5 separate regions of the Homo sapiens genome follow, and all the other regions are linked to region 2. The links are contacts of gene promoters, found by promoter capture Hi-C in blood cells and fetal thymus (Javierre and others, 2016). All regions are on one chromosome and are shown on one strand. Each heading gives the region's core, a stretch centred on a gene start or on the middle of the fragment in contact. The rest is flanking DNA. Distances are from core to core; before and after follow the strand shown. Region 1 overlaps LOC100506023 (a long non-coding RNA gene). Region 2 holds the start of DARS2 (aspartyl-tRNA synthetase 2, mitochondrial). Region 3 overlaps RABGAP1L (RAB GTPase activating protein 1 like). Region 4 overlaps TNFSF4 (TNF superfamily member 4). Region 5 overlaps RABGAP1L (RAB GTPase activating protein 1 like).

Evidence for each region. The method cuts DNA at HindIII sites, captures the fragments that hold promoters and counts their contacts. A CHiCAGO score of 5 or more calls a contact.
Region 1: a contact is called between a fragment that was not itself captured here and the fragment with the promoter of DARS2 in region 2, in 1 of 17 cell types (M2 macrophages). The highest score is 5.1, in M2 macrophages.
Region 3: a fragment that was not itself captured here is called in contact with the fragment with the promoter of DARS2 in region 2 in 1 of 17 cell types (neutrophils); the score reaches 7.0 in neutrophils.
Region 4: a fragment that was not itself captured here is called in contact with the fragment with the promoter of DARS2 in region 2 in 3 of 17 cell types (naive B cells, megakaryocytes and total B cells); the score reaches 7.6 in naive B cells.
Region 5: a contact is called between a fragment that was not itself captured here and the fragment with the promoter of DARS2 in region 2, in 1 of 17 cell types (neutrophils). The highest score is 9.8, in neutrophils.

What each region holds. Positions count from the first base shown.
Region 1 is chr1:173,249,493-173,252,669 of GRCh38, reverse strand. The region is part of intron 2 of LOC100506023 (a long non-coding RNA gene); the gene reads left to right. It also overlaps a transcript of TNFSF4 not described here. Among named protein-coding and RNA genes, the nearest start is that of TNFSF4, 44 kb to the right of the region's middle. The HindIII fragment of the contact is 3,518 bases long and covers 1-3,177 here.
Region 2 is chr1:173,822,979-173,825,938 of GRCh38, reverse strand. It overlaps DARS2 (aspartyl-tRNA synthetase 2, mitochondrial), which reads right to left and starts at 1,266. Exons shown (of 17, transcript NM_018122.5): 1 at 583-1,266. The coding sequence starts at 709. It overlaps CENPL (centromere protein L), which reads left to right and starts at 1,056. Exons shown (of 6, transcript NM_001387287.1): 1 at 1,056-1,727; 2 at 1,920-2,013. RefSeq lists enhancers at 526-1,043, 750-1,309, 1,044-1,562, 1,540-1,779. The HindIII fragment of the contact is 2,471 bases long and covers 1-1,369 here.
Region 3 is chr1:174,770,795-174,773,964 of GRCh38, reverse strand. The region is part of intron 18 of RABGAP1L (RAB GTPase activating protein 1 like); the gene reads right to left. Among named protein-coding and RNA genes, the nearest start is that of RABGAP1L-AS1, 180 kb to the left of the region's middle. The HindIII fragment of the contact is 3,621 bases long and covers 1-3,170 here.
Region 4 is chr1:173,200,318-173,203,421 of GRCh38, reverse strand. All of the region lies in intron 1 of TNFSF4 (TNF superfamily member 4), which reads left to right. Among named protein-coding and RNA genes, the nearest start is that of TNFSF4, 5.5 kb to the left of the region's middle. The HindIII fragment of the contact is 4,156 bases long and covers 1-3,104 here.
Region 5 is chr1:174,744,436-174,747,783 of GRCh38, reverse strand. The region is part of intron 17 of RABGAP1L (RAB GTPase activating protein 1 like); the gene reads right to left. Among named protein-coding and RNA genes, the nearest start is that of RABGAP1L-AS1, 210 kb to the left of the region's middle. The HindIII fragment of the contact is 4,626 bases long and covers 1-3,348 here.

The sequences.
Region 1 (3,177 bases), core at 282-2,781, 570 kb after region 2:
ACATCCTACTTTGGTGGGAACAGTTGTTCCCTAATTGTAGTCCAAGCCAACCTGCAGTAAATATAGACATTGAGAAATTTCCTATGCAAGGCAAGTAAACGTTCTTCCAACCTAGATTCAGGGCAGAAGTGCAGTGAGTATGTAACCATTTAATATCTAGTATTGCACAGATAATTATCTCAAAGGAAGAGAAAAATGGTGGAAAGGCTCCTTAAGGAATTCCCTATATTTAATTTCAGCAAATAATTATGTATTTTAATAATTTCAACAATCAGAGCTTCACATCTCTGATTAGATTTGTATGAAGATTATATGAAGCTATATCAAGAGATCCAAAATTAAGCTGTTAAGCGTTCTTCCAACATAATTATTGAAAATTGGACTTACCTTGTAAGATAGACTTTCTGGAAGACTTTATTTTTTCCCTCCCTCCTTTCTTTTCTATTTTTCTTTCTATCATGAGAGTTGAGGACTGGAACTATTATAAAAAGTGGAAGAATCAGTATTTTGACAGTATTATCTATTAACATAAAACATTTGATCTAGTTAGCCAACTAAAACCATCTATTAACATAAAACATTTGATCTAGTTAGCCAACTAAAACCATCTATTAACATAAAACATTTGATCTAGTTAGCCAACTAAAACCTGCCTAAAATTCAAGCCACACAATAACAGGGCATTTACCTTATTTTCCAATCATAATTCTCTGTCTTCTAGAAAGGACTTCAACAAAGGACACGTTCCTGTGTTTCTTTCCAGGGAAAATAGGTTGCCATATAGGGTAGGCACAAATCCTTATAATGGCAATTGACACAGGGGCCTTAGTCTTAAGCATTGACTCCTCCACAGTAGTGTCATTGTAAAAACCACAAAAATGATCACAATAACCATAAGAACTAACACTTATTGACAATTTCCCAGGTACTCTGCTGTGTCCTTTATATGTATTTTCCCTTTTAATCCTTAGAATACCTCTATGGGATAGAAACTGTTACCATCCCTATTGTACATATAAGGAAAATAACACTTAGATTAAATAACTATTGCAAGGTCACACAGCTGCAAGGGCTAGAACTGGGACTGAAACCATGTCTTCCTCACATACCCTCCCCCTGGCCCCTTTCAGACATCTTGAGGGCCCACCTTGGTCAGCCCTTCCCACATGTGAGATTGCCTCATCTATTCACCAAATAGGTATTGAGTACTATGTGCTAGGCACTGTCATAGAAAATGGGGGTTCAATAATGAACAAGATCAGTCTCTGCTATCAAGGGGCTCAAAGATTAATTCAATTTCCCTTCAATTTTTTCTGTAACAAGATTTCTTTTCAGATTTCTTTCTTGGGCAATTAACAAGAAGTGAAAATTTAGATGCCTGTACAGAACCTGCAGTTAAATGGTGTGAAGTATGCCAGGCAAAGGTAGAATTCTGGGAGCAAAGCTGTTTTTATTTTGACCAAATGCACACATCTGCCTAGTTTTTGCCATATTAAACACCTGGCGGCTTTATAGTATCTATGGACTGTATTTGTGCCTTCATTTTCAAACGTTTCCAAACCTAAGTGTTCATCAGAATCACCTGTAGGGCTTAAGACAGACTGCTTAGCCCCATCCCCAGTTTCTGATTCAATAGGTCTTAGGTGGGGCCTCAGAATTTGCATATCTAACAAGTTCCCAGGTGACATGGATGGTGCTGATGTGGGGACTACATTTTGAGAAACATTGTCAGGCCACCTATGCATAATTTTAGTCTTCCTATTATATTAGTTATATTATTTCTGGTGAGATTCCTAAGGAGTTTAGTCTCTCAATAGACATTTGATCTTAAAAGCCCCAGATCTCATACTACTTCTCTCCCTTCAATCCTCCAAAAAATATTTATTGAGATCTGTGTTAAGAAACTGGAGAGGCCGGGCGCGGTGGCTCACGCCTGTAATCCCAGCACTTTGGGAGGCCGAGGTGGGCGGATCACGAGGTCAGAAGATCGAGACCATCCTGGCTAACATGGTGAAACCCCGTCTCTACTAAAAATACAAAAACTTAGCCGGGCGTGGTGGCAGTCGCCTGTAGTCCCAGCTACTCGGGAGGCTGAGGCAGGAGAATGGCGTGAACCCGGGAGGCGGAGCTTGCAGTGAGCCAAGATGGCGCCACTGCACTCCAGCCCGGGTGACAGAGCGAGACTCCGTCTCAAAAAAAAAAAAAACAAAAAAACAAAAAATGAAACTGGAGATACTGAAATGAATAAGACAGTATGGCTGGTAGCTTTGTACATATAAGACATGATTTTCTGTCTCTTAACCTCTATTTCTATATTCTCTTTCAGTATAATCTGTTCAATTTATTGAAATTTGTTTCAGGGTGATGAGCTAAATTATAAGTTAAACTAAGAATTCACCTACATTTTATTAATGTGTTAAATGGTAAAATTAATGAAAACCTTTAAAAGTTTTCATAGAACAAATAAAAATAAACAAGTAGATTAAAATAAAGATCTCAATTTAGTCACTAGATGCCGTATATATAGGATAGTTAGCTATCGAATGGCTTCTCAGGTGCACTGACGAACAGGGAGTATGCTCAGCACTAAATTTTCTTTGGAAAAGTACACATTTGAAGATTTAAGAGGTTCAGGAACTTTTTTTTTTATTTTAAGTTCAGAGGTACATTTGCAGAATGTGCAGGTTTGTTACATAGGTAAACATGTGCCATGGGGGGAAATAGAACATATTATTCTTATGAGTTATCAGTATGACTACCATCGATACTGCCAGTATCACCCAATATTTATTAAGTGTTGACTGTGTGTCAAGAACTATGGTTCGTGTTAATGATGCATTATCTCTTCCTGCTCACGAACTCTGTGAAGCAGGTACTATTATTATCTCCATTTTTACTAAGGCTTTAGGCAGATTTAATACTAAGTGTTGGTACTGAGTGTAGTCTTGCTGCTAAAGGCAGGAAGCTGTGGTGTCCTGGCACATGAACTGTTAATATACTGTGTGCTTGGGAATTAGGTAGACTTAGGCTATTTTCCAGAAGTCATGAGTGCCCTGCCCAGGTCCACCCACTGACTTCACAGCCCAGCTGAGTTTTGCCCTTTTCTTGTGTCCTCCCACCCTGTGGTGTACTGGGTGTGGCACTGCTAAAAGAATGACATCACAAGGAACAGAACAC
Region 2 (2,960 bases), core at 17-2,516:
AGAAGGATTTTTTTAAGGCATCAACCAAAAGCAGAGTATTCTATATATTACGTGGTTACCTTTTTGTGGTCTTTCTAAAAACTCAGGGAAAAAAAACTGCCGTATAATGAATATAATGAGAGTGAATTTCGCTTCTACACATAAGGCTATCCAGTTAAGAACAGGGGAAAAGCCGGGCGCGGTGGCTCACGCCTGTAATCCCAGCACTATGGGAGGCGGAGGCGGGTGGATCACGAGGTCAGGAGATCGAGACCATCCTGGCTAACACAGTGAAACCCCGGCTCTACCAAAAATACAGAAAAATTAGCCGGGCGTGGTCGCGGGCGCCTGTAGTCCCAGCTACTCGGGAGGCTGAGGCAGGAGAATGGCGTGAACCCGGGAGGCGGAGCTTGCAGTGAGCGGAGATCGCGCCACTTCACTCTAGCCTGGGCAGCAGAGCGAGACTCCGTCTCAAATAATAATAATAATAATAATAATAATAATAATAATGGGGGAAAAAATGAAAAATGGAATAAAAGCTCTCCGGCCGTAGATAACAGGCTGAAGTACTGTTCATAGGATAGATCTCTTCGCTATTTTCACCTGGAATTCTCCTCTGTGAACTCTGCAACAGACTTCTGTAGAGAGAACCCCAGATCGGTTGGGTGGTCCTTCTGATGGGTCTGGATAAACCCCTGTACAGCTGACTTAACCAAGAAGGGAAGTACATGTTGGAGCCACACGATGGCGAAAAACAATCACGAAATCCCACGCTGCCGGTAGTTAAAAGTCAGTTTTGGAAATACACAGAAATCCCTTAAAATTCCAGGAGTTCCCACTCTCTTCTCGAATATTTAAGGCCTCCTCCGCACAACATTGGAGTACACGTGTCTAGAAACAAGACAAATCTCCAAGGTCTCTGGGGTGCTTGCTGGGGTGGAGATAAGGGAAAGACCTCTCCCTGAGTCTTAAAGCATCAGTCTGCACTTCTACTCAACAAGTCGGCAGCCAAAAGTGACGACGAGAGAGCGACTCCACGTAGCGGCGCCAGGCGCGAGCCCAAGACAACCAGAGGCGGTCACAAGGTATACGCCCTTCTCCTCTTTCCACGCTTCTCGAGAGGCTCCCGCGGCCAGAACCGGAAAACAAGGAGTAACAGTCGCGTTTCAAATCTCGCAGACCTGCTGGCCGATTTCGAGTCTTCTGAAAGAGGAAGGCGAGCAAAGCCAAAATTCTCCCAGAGCGCGAACCCAAACACAGATCGCCGCTGGGGTCCAAGCGCCCTTCAACTCCGCCCGCTAGTGCCCAAGATTACCGGGAAGGAATTCAACGAATCAGTGGTGAGGTGCCGCCGCCATGCCTACTACGGGCGGAAATTTGAGAGAAAGCTTCGCACCGGTAGGAAAACTGAGGAGCAACCGAGCACGATTGGAAAGGTTGACGATAGTGGTTAAGTGGCTCGGCCTTGCCCTCAGTTAAAATGGCAATTTTAGTTGCTTCACTGATACGGAATCGGCGAGGCGCCAAGGAGGCTTCCTGCGTGGGGCCGCAGAGCGAGTCGGGAAACGATTTTAAACTGAAGAGGCGGCGGAGGGCCGAATTCCCTTTTCTCAACGGCTTGATTTCAGAGCTGGGCTGGTCTCTGACAGGCTCAGCTGGAGAGGGACGGGTTGGGACGCACTGTCCTTTTGCCCTTCCCCCTCCGCGAGCAGAAGCTGACTCCGCAGGAGCGAGGGTCGCAGAGCTGGGTGAGCGGAAATGTCCCTCCCAGAGTGAAGTCGCAGGGCCCGCCCCGCGTCTGAGGGAGCGGAGGTCTTCCTGGGTGCGTTTGTGTCTCTTGTGAACCCACTTGTGGAGCGAGAGGGAATTTGGGAGGGCCAGGGGTTAGTCTGGCCTCTGTCTTAGCTGTCATTTTGGCGGTTTTTTTTTTTTTTCTTCAGGGGATTTCAGTCTCCACATAGTTTTGGAGCCGGACTTTTGAAGAATGATTCGTGAATCCGGAATGGGTGACAGCGTCATCACGGCATTTTATTGGTAAAGATGCTTTGTATTGGTCCCGGACCTGCTTTAACTTTGTATTTGCCCTGTTGTGTGGTCATTATCTTACAATACTTGCGTGTTGAGGTGTGTTTAAACACTACGTGCTTAACACTGGCTAAGTATTGGCATTGGGGCGGTTGGATTTAGGTATTGGTGGCAATGTAGAAAAGTGATCAAGTCAGAGCCCCTTCACGGACTAATCACAAGAGAAACAACAAAGCTTTACTTGTGTGCTGTGAACCACAACTGCAAGTGGAATTGTCAAGAGAACTAGCCCTGCCAAGCTCAGGAAAACTTCTGAGGAGATGGCACATGGAAAATGGATAAGATTTACTGAGACAAACGGGAGTAGAGAAGTGTTTTTAATTGGCGATAAGGTGAATAAAAAGGCAGGGAGAACAGTAGAGTGATCATCTGTCTAGAGTAGGGGGTGCATGTTTGGGTATAGGGCTGTCATTTAACCTCTTAAAGAATTGTCTACTGGAACTTTCTTCACTCCCATCCCCCCACCCCCCAATGTTGTATACAAAACCTTAGAGGAAGTGTATGCAGAATGTTGGATTTTGGAAAGGCTAATGTCGATGGATCTTGGGGAAGAACTGAAGTAGTAGAAAATGAACCTGGATAGGATCAGATAATAAGATCAAATACAGTAGTGCCTTGAAAGCCAGACAGGAATTCTGATTTGACTTCATATAGATGTGTGGGAACTGTTATGGGATCTCAAGCAAGGTAATGATAAAAGTGGTGACAATGAAAGACTGATGATGGATTAGGGAAAGGGGCTAAGATTGGGAACAAGATAAGTAGCTATAATTGAGAATGAAAGTGAAGCCCACATCTAAGAGGACAAGTGTATATCTTTTTAAGAAATATGTCAGAGGCCAGGTGTGGTGGCTTATGCCTGTAATCCAGCACTTTGGGAGGCCAAGGCAGGCGGA
Region 3 (3,170 bases), core at 241-2,740, 950 kb before region 2:
ATACCAGCAACTCTTACAGATAAAAAGGGTCATAAAAACATATTGGGCAGTGAATCCTCTGACAAGTCTCTTGATAATAGCTCCTTATGATCAGCTCACATACTCTGATTGGTCAGAGTGAAATGGAGTTTAACCAGAGCATTAAACAGTATTCAGGGATGACTTCATATATCTCAAAGATTATGACAGAATAAGTGGAAAGGCAGAACTCAGGAATCAAATATTATTCCAGCCAGTCAAGAGCAGAGAATATTTTAATTTCATGATGATTTTTGACAGTGAGTTCATTTTCATTAGCCTAAATTCAATTATTTGTTCATATAGCAATGGCTCTTGGTTGCTCTGGCTCTGCTTCTATCCTATTCAACCAAGGACATTTTTAAATTGGGACAACTATCTTTGAACATACAATAGAATATGCTTAATTCAAACAACTTGAATTAAAAAACCTGTTTTCACTCATAGTATGATGTCAACATAGATTTGTGGAATGGAGACTGATTTCACTATAATTTAAGGGTCTCCTGCTGTATAACGTAAAAAGGCATGGAATTTTTAGTGAGAGCCACCTGGCTTTTATTTATTTATTTGTTTATTACTTTTTAGATAACGGGTCTCACTATGTTGTTCAGATTAGTCTTGCACTCATGGGCTCAAGTGATCTTTCCACCTTAGCCTTCCAAGTAGCTAGGATTACAGGCATATGTCGCCATGCCTGGGATTTGAGTATCAAGTAGGATATAATCTCTTGTTCACAGAGCAATTGTAAGGTTTAAAATAAACACACACACACACACACACCCCATAGCTTAGAAGTTAAGAACACTGCCTCTGTAGTAAGACAGGCCTAGTTGTGATTGTGGTATGTCATTTGCCTAACTGAATGACTTTAACCAAGTTTTTTAACTTTTTATAAGTCTTAGTTTCCTAATCTGTAAAATGAGCATATTGATTCATACCAACAAGTCAATACAGTATTAACAGTAATAGAATCACTGATAAAATAGTAATACAATATTAACAGTAATAGAATTATTGTTAAAATTAGGATTTCTTTTAATTAATGTCAGTAAAAAAATTAAGGGTCATACACTATGCTAAGTGAAATATGCCAGAGATAAGACAAATACGATATAATTCCACTTACATGAGGTACCTAGAGTAGCCAAATTCATAGAGACAGAAAGCAGAATGGTGACTGCCAGGGGCTAAGGGGAGAAAGGAATGGGGAGTTACTATTTAACAGGTGCAAGAGTTTCAGTTTTGCAAGATGAAAAAAAGATCTGGAGATGGATGGTGGTGATAGTTGCACAACAATGTCAATTTACCTAATGTCACTGAACTGTGTACTTAGGAATGGTTAAAACTGTACTTTTTTTTTTTTTTTTTTTTTTTTTGAGATGGAGTCTTGCTCTGTTGCCCAGGCTGGAGTGCAGTGGTGCGATCTCAGCTCACCACAAGCTCCGCCTCCCGGGTTCAAGCGATTCTCCCATCTCAGTCTCCTGAGTAGCCAGGCACACGCCACAACACCCGCTAATTTTGTATTTTTAGTAGAAATGGGGTTTCTCCATGTTGGCCAGGGTGATCTCGAACTCCTGACCTCAGGTGATCCACCCACCTTGGCCTCCCAAAGTGCTGGGATTACAGGCCTGAGCCACTGCCCTGACCAAAATTGTACATTTTATGTTACGTATATTATACTACAATAAACAAAATTAAAGGTAGTGAAGATTAGTTATTTTTTTTTGTTTTGTTTTTTGTTTTTTTTTGAGACAGTCTGACTCTGTCGTCCAGGCTGTAGTGCAGTGGCGTGATCTCAGCTCACTGCAACCTCTGCCTCCCGGCTTCAAGCAATTCTTTGCCTCAGCCTCTCGAGTAGCTGGGATTACAGGCACCCACCACCAGGCCCGGCTAATTTTTTGTATTTTTAGTAGAGATGGGGTTTCACCATCTTGGCCAGGCTGGTCTTGAACTTCTGACCTCGTGATCCACCTGCCTCGGCCTTCCAAAGTGCTGGGATTATAGGCGTGGGCCAATGTGCCCGGCCGTGAAGATTAGTTTTAAAGTGCTTAGCACAGCATCAGATACATTTTAAGTGCTCAATAAATGATAGGTGTCTTACTATTAATTTTATTTATTAAACATTTAAAAAATGCATTTGAGAGCTCATTACAAACTGTTTAAATGCTACACAATTATATTGTTATTGATGGTAGCTGTCAGATTTTTTTTACATAGATCCAACACATTGCTTGGATATCTAGAAATACCTGATAGAATGATCACAGTGCAGAGGTGTGAGTGCTAGAAAATACACACACTAACATTTCACTAATGTAGAACAAATGGGTTGTTTATATTCAAGTATGGTTATAAAGAGATTTTTAAGTTGAAATGAAAACATTTTGGTGGTATTCATCTTGAAGTATAACAAATAAAATATTCCTTTGCTCCTAATTTTATTATATTGTTCTGTAAACACTTTTTTTTTTGTAAAAGAGGCAAAGATAAATTTAGCCAAGCACTTAAACAACAAACATGCAAATTATACAAAGATTCTTATCTACTCATTAAAGGACTGAAATGGTTATATAAGACATACAAACATACACACATATACACACACCTATAGCACAGATTGACACAGCTGGCATGACATAAATTTAGAGCATGCTTCCCTGTCTCTTTATTTTATAAGTTAGGAAATTAAGTGTTAAAAGGTTAGATGATTTGATTAAAATTCCACAATAAATTGATGGCAGAAATGTAATTAAAGCCCCTCAGAATCGTATCCTGCGCATCCCCCTCAAATGTGCCATGGCAAAGGACTTGCCTCAGCCATTCTTCCTCATTCCTCTTCTACATGCTGTTCACTCTCACCCTCATGTCCTATTCTCAGGTTAGATGCCACCTTTGGAAAATGTTTACTAGTTTCCCAGAATGAATTTGGCATTCTGCCTTTAGGCTCCCAAAGATCCCTTTTAAACCCCAGGATCAAACACACTGAATTCTTATGTCTGTGTGCCTCCCCTATTAGATGTGACAACTTCAGGACACAGAATGTCATCTCTGTATCCCCTGACATCTAACCCAGGGACTGTCAATAGTGAATATCTGTTGAATAAGTGAACTAACTAACCATCACAGGCTTCTCCAAAGAGAGACAGGAA
Region 4 (3,104 bases), core at 94-2,593, 620 kb after region 2:
AGGCATTTGAATTTGCTTTTCATAAGCAAATCTTTGAGAATTAAAAAATTAACATCTGAAGTTGACTTGGCTTGTCATAAGGCATTTTGAGGCTTCTAAAGGAGGTATTAAACATATAGAATCATTGAATTTGGGGGCAGGTATTAGATATAGTCTATTTACAGATAAGAAAACAGAAACCTAGAGAGGGTAGGTGAACCATTCGTGACCACTTAGCTGGTTAATTCACCAGAACTCCTGATTCCTACACTATGGTTCTTCTTATTATCAATGAAACCATCCTTACACAGATTTTTTTCCATTGAGTGTTTACTTGTGCTAGGTACCATTTGAGGCACTGGCGATATAAACATCCATTGGAGAAGGTTTTTGAACTATTTACACTCACAGTCAAGATGCAGGGTGGGGACAAAAGAGTGACATGCTCAAGGGACAATGGGAAGATGAGAGGAGGGAGGAGGGAGGGCTGCCTCAGCCTTCTGGGGAGTCAGGAAAACCTGCAGGAGGAGATAATGCTTCAGCTAATACTAGAAGGAGGAGGATAAATTATTTAAGCAGACAAGCGGATGGGAATTGGTGGGTAGGGGTAGAAGGCTTACTAGGCAGAACAGCAAGTTTTTCTGAATAGCTCAAGTTGAGTGTTCCTGTGGGAAAGTGGTGGAGATGAAGCTGAAAAGCTGGGGAGGTGGGGAGCAGTTCACAAAGGATCTTGTGAATCATGCTAAAGGAACACGCTTCATTCTCTCCTACGCCAAAGGAAATACAGGAAAAATTACCAACATTGTTACCTCTCCAAATTTTGCTTCTCTTGTGTAGTCTGTATTTTGGCAAATATAGAAAGTGAGTCTAATCTGAACAGCACTAGGGGGCACCACAGTAAAAGTAACGATTCTCTTGTGTCTGAAGACAGCTTATCCTCTTTTCCTGAAGAGTTGATTAGAAAACTTCTCAGGCAGTCAAGTGCTCATCCACAAATAAGAGAATGAACAATATCAGGGGCAGCTAATATTATTCACTATTTGCAGAGTGATGATATTTTCTAAATGAAGTGTTTAGATATATGTTTTGATCTGGGTATTCAAAATAGGACAGAATAATTTGGATGGGGATGATGCTGGAAAATATTGCACGTGTATGCACATATAGATCCAAATATACACACACAGAGGAGAGTTGGGAAACAAGCCAAAAGGCTCTAGGTATAGATCTAGGGATACAATCTCTCTGTTCCTCTTCTCTGACCTCAGCTGCTGGTTACTAGTACTGAGTAGACCCAGCCTTGTTTAGGGGCTGGCCACCTTGGCCTTCCACTTCTTCTTCTTCTTTTATATATATGTGTATGTGTGTGTGTATATATATATATGTATATATATATAGCAATTACTTCTCTCTCAAATGACAGCTTACCCCACTTCAGGGATTCTCCATTCATGGAAAATGAAAGTTAATCCTTTTGCATCATTTGGGTTAGAGGAGCTACATACAGTGTTGTTATTACTGTTTAATGAGGGAAAAATAACCCAGCTGAGTTGTAGGTGGAAAGGTTTATGTTTCCATAGTCACTAATGAAATACATGGTAGAGTTGGATTGAAACTGAATTTTCTACCATCCTATGCTTTGTATATTTCGTTTGTAATCACCCATGCTTTTGATAACCAATCTTTTCAAACAAAGGAATTAAAACATTTGCTTATACAAAGCTATAAAACATCATCTCAGATTTTGGAGGACTCATTGAAGTATAAAGGGAGTGCCCTGGGCCAGGAACCAGAATTTTTCAGTCCAGGCTTTTACCTCTTGACCCCAAGTAAATTTCTTGAAATTCCCTGGGCATCAGTTTAATCATTTCCAAGACTGGAATTTGGTTGTGGTGAGGATTAATTGATACACAGCTTTGTAAATGCTAAGATTATTATTATCATTATCCATGAACATGCTTCCGTTAACATACTGCTACTAAAATGTTGACTTTATAGTATGTGTGTGCACACATACACACACACTGTAACTCAAATCTCAGAAAGCATATCAAAGTTAATGTTAACCATAACTTCATGAACCTTGATTTCCCCAATGTAATTTTTAGGATTAAAAAATCCACCTTGGAAGAGTCCTATTATTTTTAAACATAGATTTCTAATTAAGATTTCATGGGTGCATTAGAGAGCAAAAGAATGAAGGGGAGAATTTATGAGGTTATGAAGTGTGATTAGGTTCAGTGTCTGCACGTGGTTCAGAGATCTAAAATTACGTACTCAGAGCACATGGCTTAGGCTATTTCCGTTTCTTCTTATTTTGATATATTTCATCCAATTCTCCAATGACTTGGCTACCAAATAAGGCAGGAAATTAGATTTATAAGAGGCATATCATCTGGTTCACTAATCTAGAAACATTGGGGAATATTCCTGGCATAACTAAAATCTTTTTTCAGTAGGCCTTTCATTCTGAAATGCACCTTAATTTTTATAAGTTTGCCTAGCTTGATAACATGCAAATGCTATTTAAGAACACATGCTTCTTGACAGAAAGATGGACAAACAAATCTGAACTTTAATTCTTCTTATACTAATTTAATAAGATCTTGTGGTTAGAGAGCCTTCATTCCCAAAGTACTATATTGTACAGGTGGGGAAGTGAGGGCTCCAGTGAGTTTAAGTGATGTAGCCTCAGGGCTGGGCTCCCCAGCGGCAGCCAGACCTTCATCCTAGAAAGCCAGTGAAACAGTGTCAAAGATCAAGATGGAATGACAATATTACAAAAATGATAAAGAACATCAAAACATGCATCAAAGGAAAGCATCTTAATGAGATATAAAATAAGTCATAAAACATGTATTTTACAGTTTAGTAATGTAAAACATATTTTGAATTACTTGTGTGTTGGGTGATGACAATTTTTAGCTTCTAAGACCCCCATGCATATTAATCTGGCCCTGTATATGGTGCAATAAAACCTAAACTCAAACCGTTTTTTAGAATGGACGGGTAGCAGGGAGGTTGAATGGTATTATTCAATGTACTACTTGCAGTAACAGTCTCTCATCTTTGCAGAGCTTTTTCCTACTTCTGACCTCATTTCTTCACTAAGACCTTGGAGAAAG
Region 5 (3,348 bases), core at 838-3,337, 920 kb before region 2:
TAATGATAATCCAGCAGGATTGATGAATGCTTATATCATGTTATAATACTGTGCTTAAGAAGGGAGGTGAGTGTGTGTTTTAAATAAAAAGTAGATAATGATGTTTTGAAGTTTGGGAAGCTAAAGAGGAAACTTTCAGTTACCAGAAAAATTTATGTATGTAAATTCTTTAAACAAGTTCAGAAAAATAAGGTATTACTATATCTGCTTATATGAAGCTCTAGACATTACCCATAAAAATAAAGACTTCATAAGCCTTGAACTAAAGTAGAACAGAGTGGCTAGACGATGCAAACAAATACACTTTAAGACATTTGAGTTGATGGAATTCAGAAAAGAACTTGTTATTCTATCAGGTTTTTTTTTTTTTTTTTTTTTTTTAGAGATAGAATTTCACTCTGTCACACAAGCTGGAGTGCAGTGGTGTGATCACCACTCACTGCAGCCTCAACCTCCCAGGCTCAAGCAATCCTCTCAACTCAGCTTCCAAGTAGCTGGGACTACATGTGTGTGCCACCATATCTGGCTAATTTTTAATTTTTTCGTAGAGATGAGGTATCCCTATGTTGCCCAAGCTGGTCTCCAATTCCTGGGCTCAAGTGATCCTTCTGCCTTGGCCTCACAACATGCTGGGATTACAGGCATGAGACAATACACTCAGCCTTGAAATGTATTTTTAAAAGCAAAATATCTCATACATTTTCAAGATGCCTCCCATTTTTAGGAATATGTAATCCCCAGCAATTTGTTTGTTCTTAAGGGGAAAACATGTACGTAGTAGGAGTCAAAGGTTTGGAGAATTATTAAGAGTAAAAAATAAGTAAACATATTATGGCCACTTATCATTTATAGTACAAGGTCTAACTCCAAATGCAAAATAATAACCAACATCTACTGAGTATTTTGTATGTGCCAAGATATGAATTAATTACATTAAAGGCATGTCCCTATTTCATCCCACAACCACCTAAAATTCCATTTTATACACAAGGAAATCAAGATTTAGAGAAATCAAAGTAACTTTCCTAAGTCCAATAGCTAATAAGTGCAGATCTAGGATTTTAACCTAATTCCAAAAGTGATACTCTAAACAATTAAGTTAGAGAAGATGATTCAATGAATATGTGAATGAATGAATAAATCTCTTATTTGGATATTATTTAATGTGTCCTCTACTTCCTAAAGGATTAAAGTGATTCTTTCCATTTAAAGGCAAGTAAATTTTGAGAGCAGAGAGTAAAAAGATAACAAATAAGTGACTTCTACCAGAACTAAATTCTATTATTTGTTTCCATATTGAAAACACTCAAAAAAAGTAGCTGACTGCTTGCAGTATATGAGGCAACAAAAACCCAACTTGCTGTGGGAAGAAAGGGTCACCACCTTCCTCTAATGACAACAGATTGAGATCAGCCTTGCATGCATGACGAAGTAGCTTTTTAACTGATTTGGATACTGCTATTTCAAAATTCAATTACATTCTGGCATCATCTTTGCTTTAAAGAACACCTACAAGTAATTGCCCCAAATTGAATAATTGCTCCAAAGTGCAGATCATGATGTTCTTGGGTAGGCCAAGGATTAAGCACCCACAATCTTGCATAAAATAACAGCTGACAGTAGAGCACTCACTGAAACAAAGACACTGAACATTCTGGCTCTGATAAGCAGGCAATCGTGGGTTCAGAGAGAGCTGACAGATTGTGTGAGAAGCTGTCAAAAACTTAAGCTGACAGCACTGAGAACAAATGCTGAAAAGGTAGTGTCAAAAAGTACCAAGTGTGCATCAGCACCTGGGTTCTTAGGAATCAAAATAAAAGGGAAATAATGGAAATCCTAACAACAAGTCAATAAACCAAATTACCAAATTATCAAACCAAAAATGGCCAAAGTAAATGGAGCAGGTTCACAGACAAAGCTAGAGGAAATGGGGTTCTGTCCTTTCTGACCCATACAAAAGAAAACATACCACCCTAGGAAGAGATAATGACTAAATGAGATAGCATACATCAAGTGAACTGAGTATTTGGTAAATATTCGATAAACACTAGCAATTATTATTATTAGGTTCATGTATTTATTGCCCATTATATCCAGTATTTTATATTTTTCACTTAATCCTCTCAACAGCTCTATGGCATATGTATTATTGCCACCATTTTAGAGATGGCTAAACTGAAGCTCAGAGACAGAACACTGTTAGTAAATGGTAAAGCCAGGCTATAACTCAGGTCTATCAGACTAAAGCAAATCCAGGCTTTTTTCCACTAATTCCATCTTGAGTGCCAACTCAGTGAGACTTTTGTTAGATATCTGTGATGGATTAAAGAGTCACAATTATTTGATGCTTCTCCATTGAGAGTTAAGGTCTCTGTTCTCTCATTTCAACCTGGGCAGACTATGGTACTGCTTTTACCAGTAGAATATGGTGGAAGTGATGCCATGCTAGTTTATGTGCCCAGGCCTTCAGATATTGACAGCTTTCATGTTCAGTCCCTTGGAGCACTCACTTTTCGAAGCCAGCTACCATATAAGAAGTGCAATTATACTTATACTCCCATGCTCTCTAAGGAACCAAGCAATCAAAAGAAGGCCTGGAGAACCAGATTTCATCAGTAAAGAAGAAAGACCAAGAATCACCAAAGTGGTAGATATGTGAGTAAAGAAGTCATCTGGAAGTGAATCAGGTGGTCCAGCTGATGCCAAGTGGATCAGAGATGAACCACACAGTTGAATTCCAAAATTTCTGACTCATGAGATTGTAAGAAAATAAATGATTGGTTTTAATTACTTTTTTTCACTTGGAAATAATTTCGGATTTAGAAAAACTTTGCAAAAACAGTACCAAGAAGTCCTACATATCCTTCACTCAGTTTTACCCAAACATTAACATCTTACATAACCATAGTATAATGATCAAAACCAAGAAACTATTATTTTTATCAAATGCTCCACTAATGCCCTTTTTCTGGTCCAGGATGCAATTCTGGATTATATATTGAATTTGGTTGTCATGTCTCCTTAGTCTCCTTTCATATGGGACCGTTTTCAGTGTTTATTTTTCATGACCTTGATGCTTTGGAAGAGTATTGGCCAGTTATTTTATAAAATGTCCCTCAACTCGATATGTCTACTGGTTCCTTATGATTAAATTCAGAATATGTATTTTGGGCACAAATACCACAGAAGTGATGCTGTGCCCTTCTCAGTGCATTCTATCAGGAGGTTACATAACATCACTATATGTCTCACTATAAAAATCATTGTCCTTTTAAAGCCACTCAGTTTTCGTATAGCTTGTTATATATTACAGGTAATCAAAAGAAAATCCATTTGGCTTCTCTGATA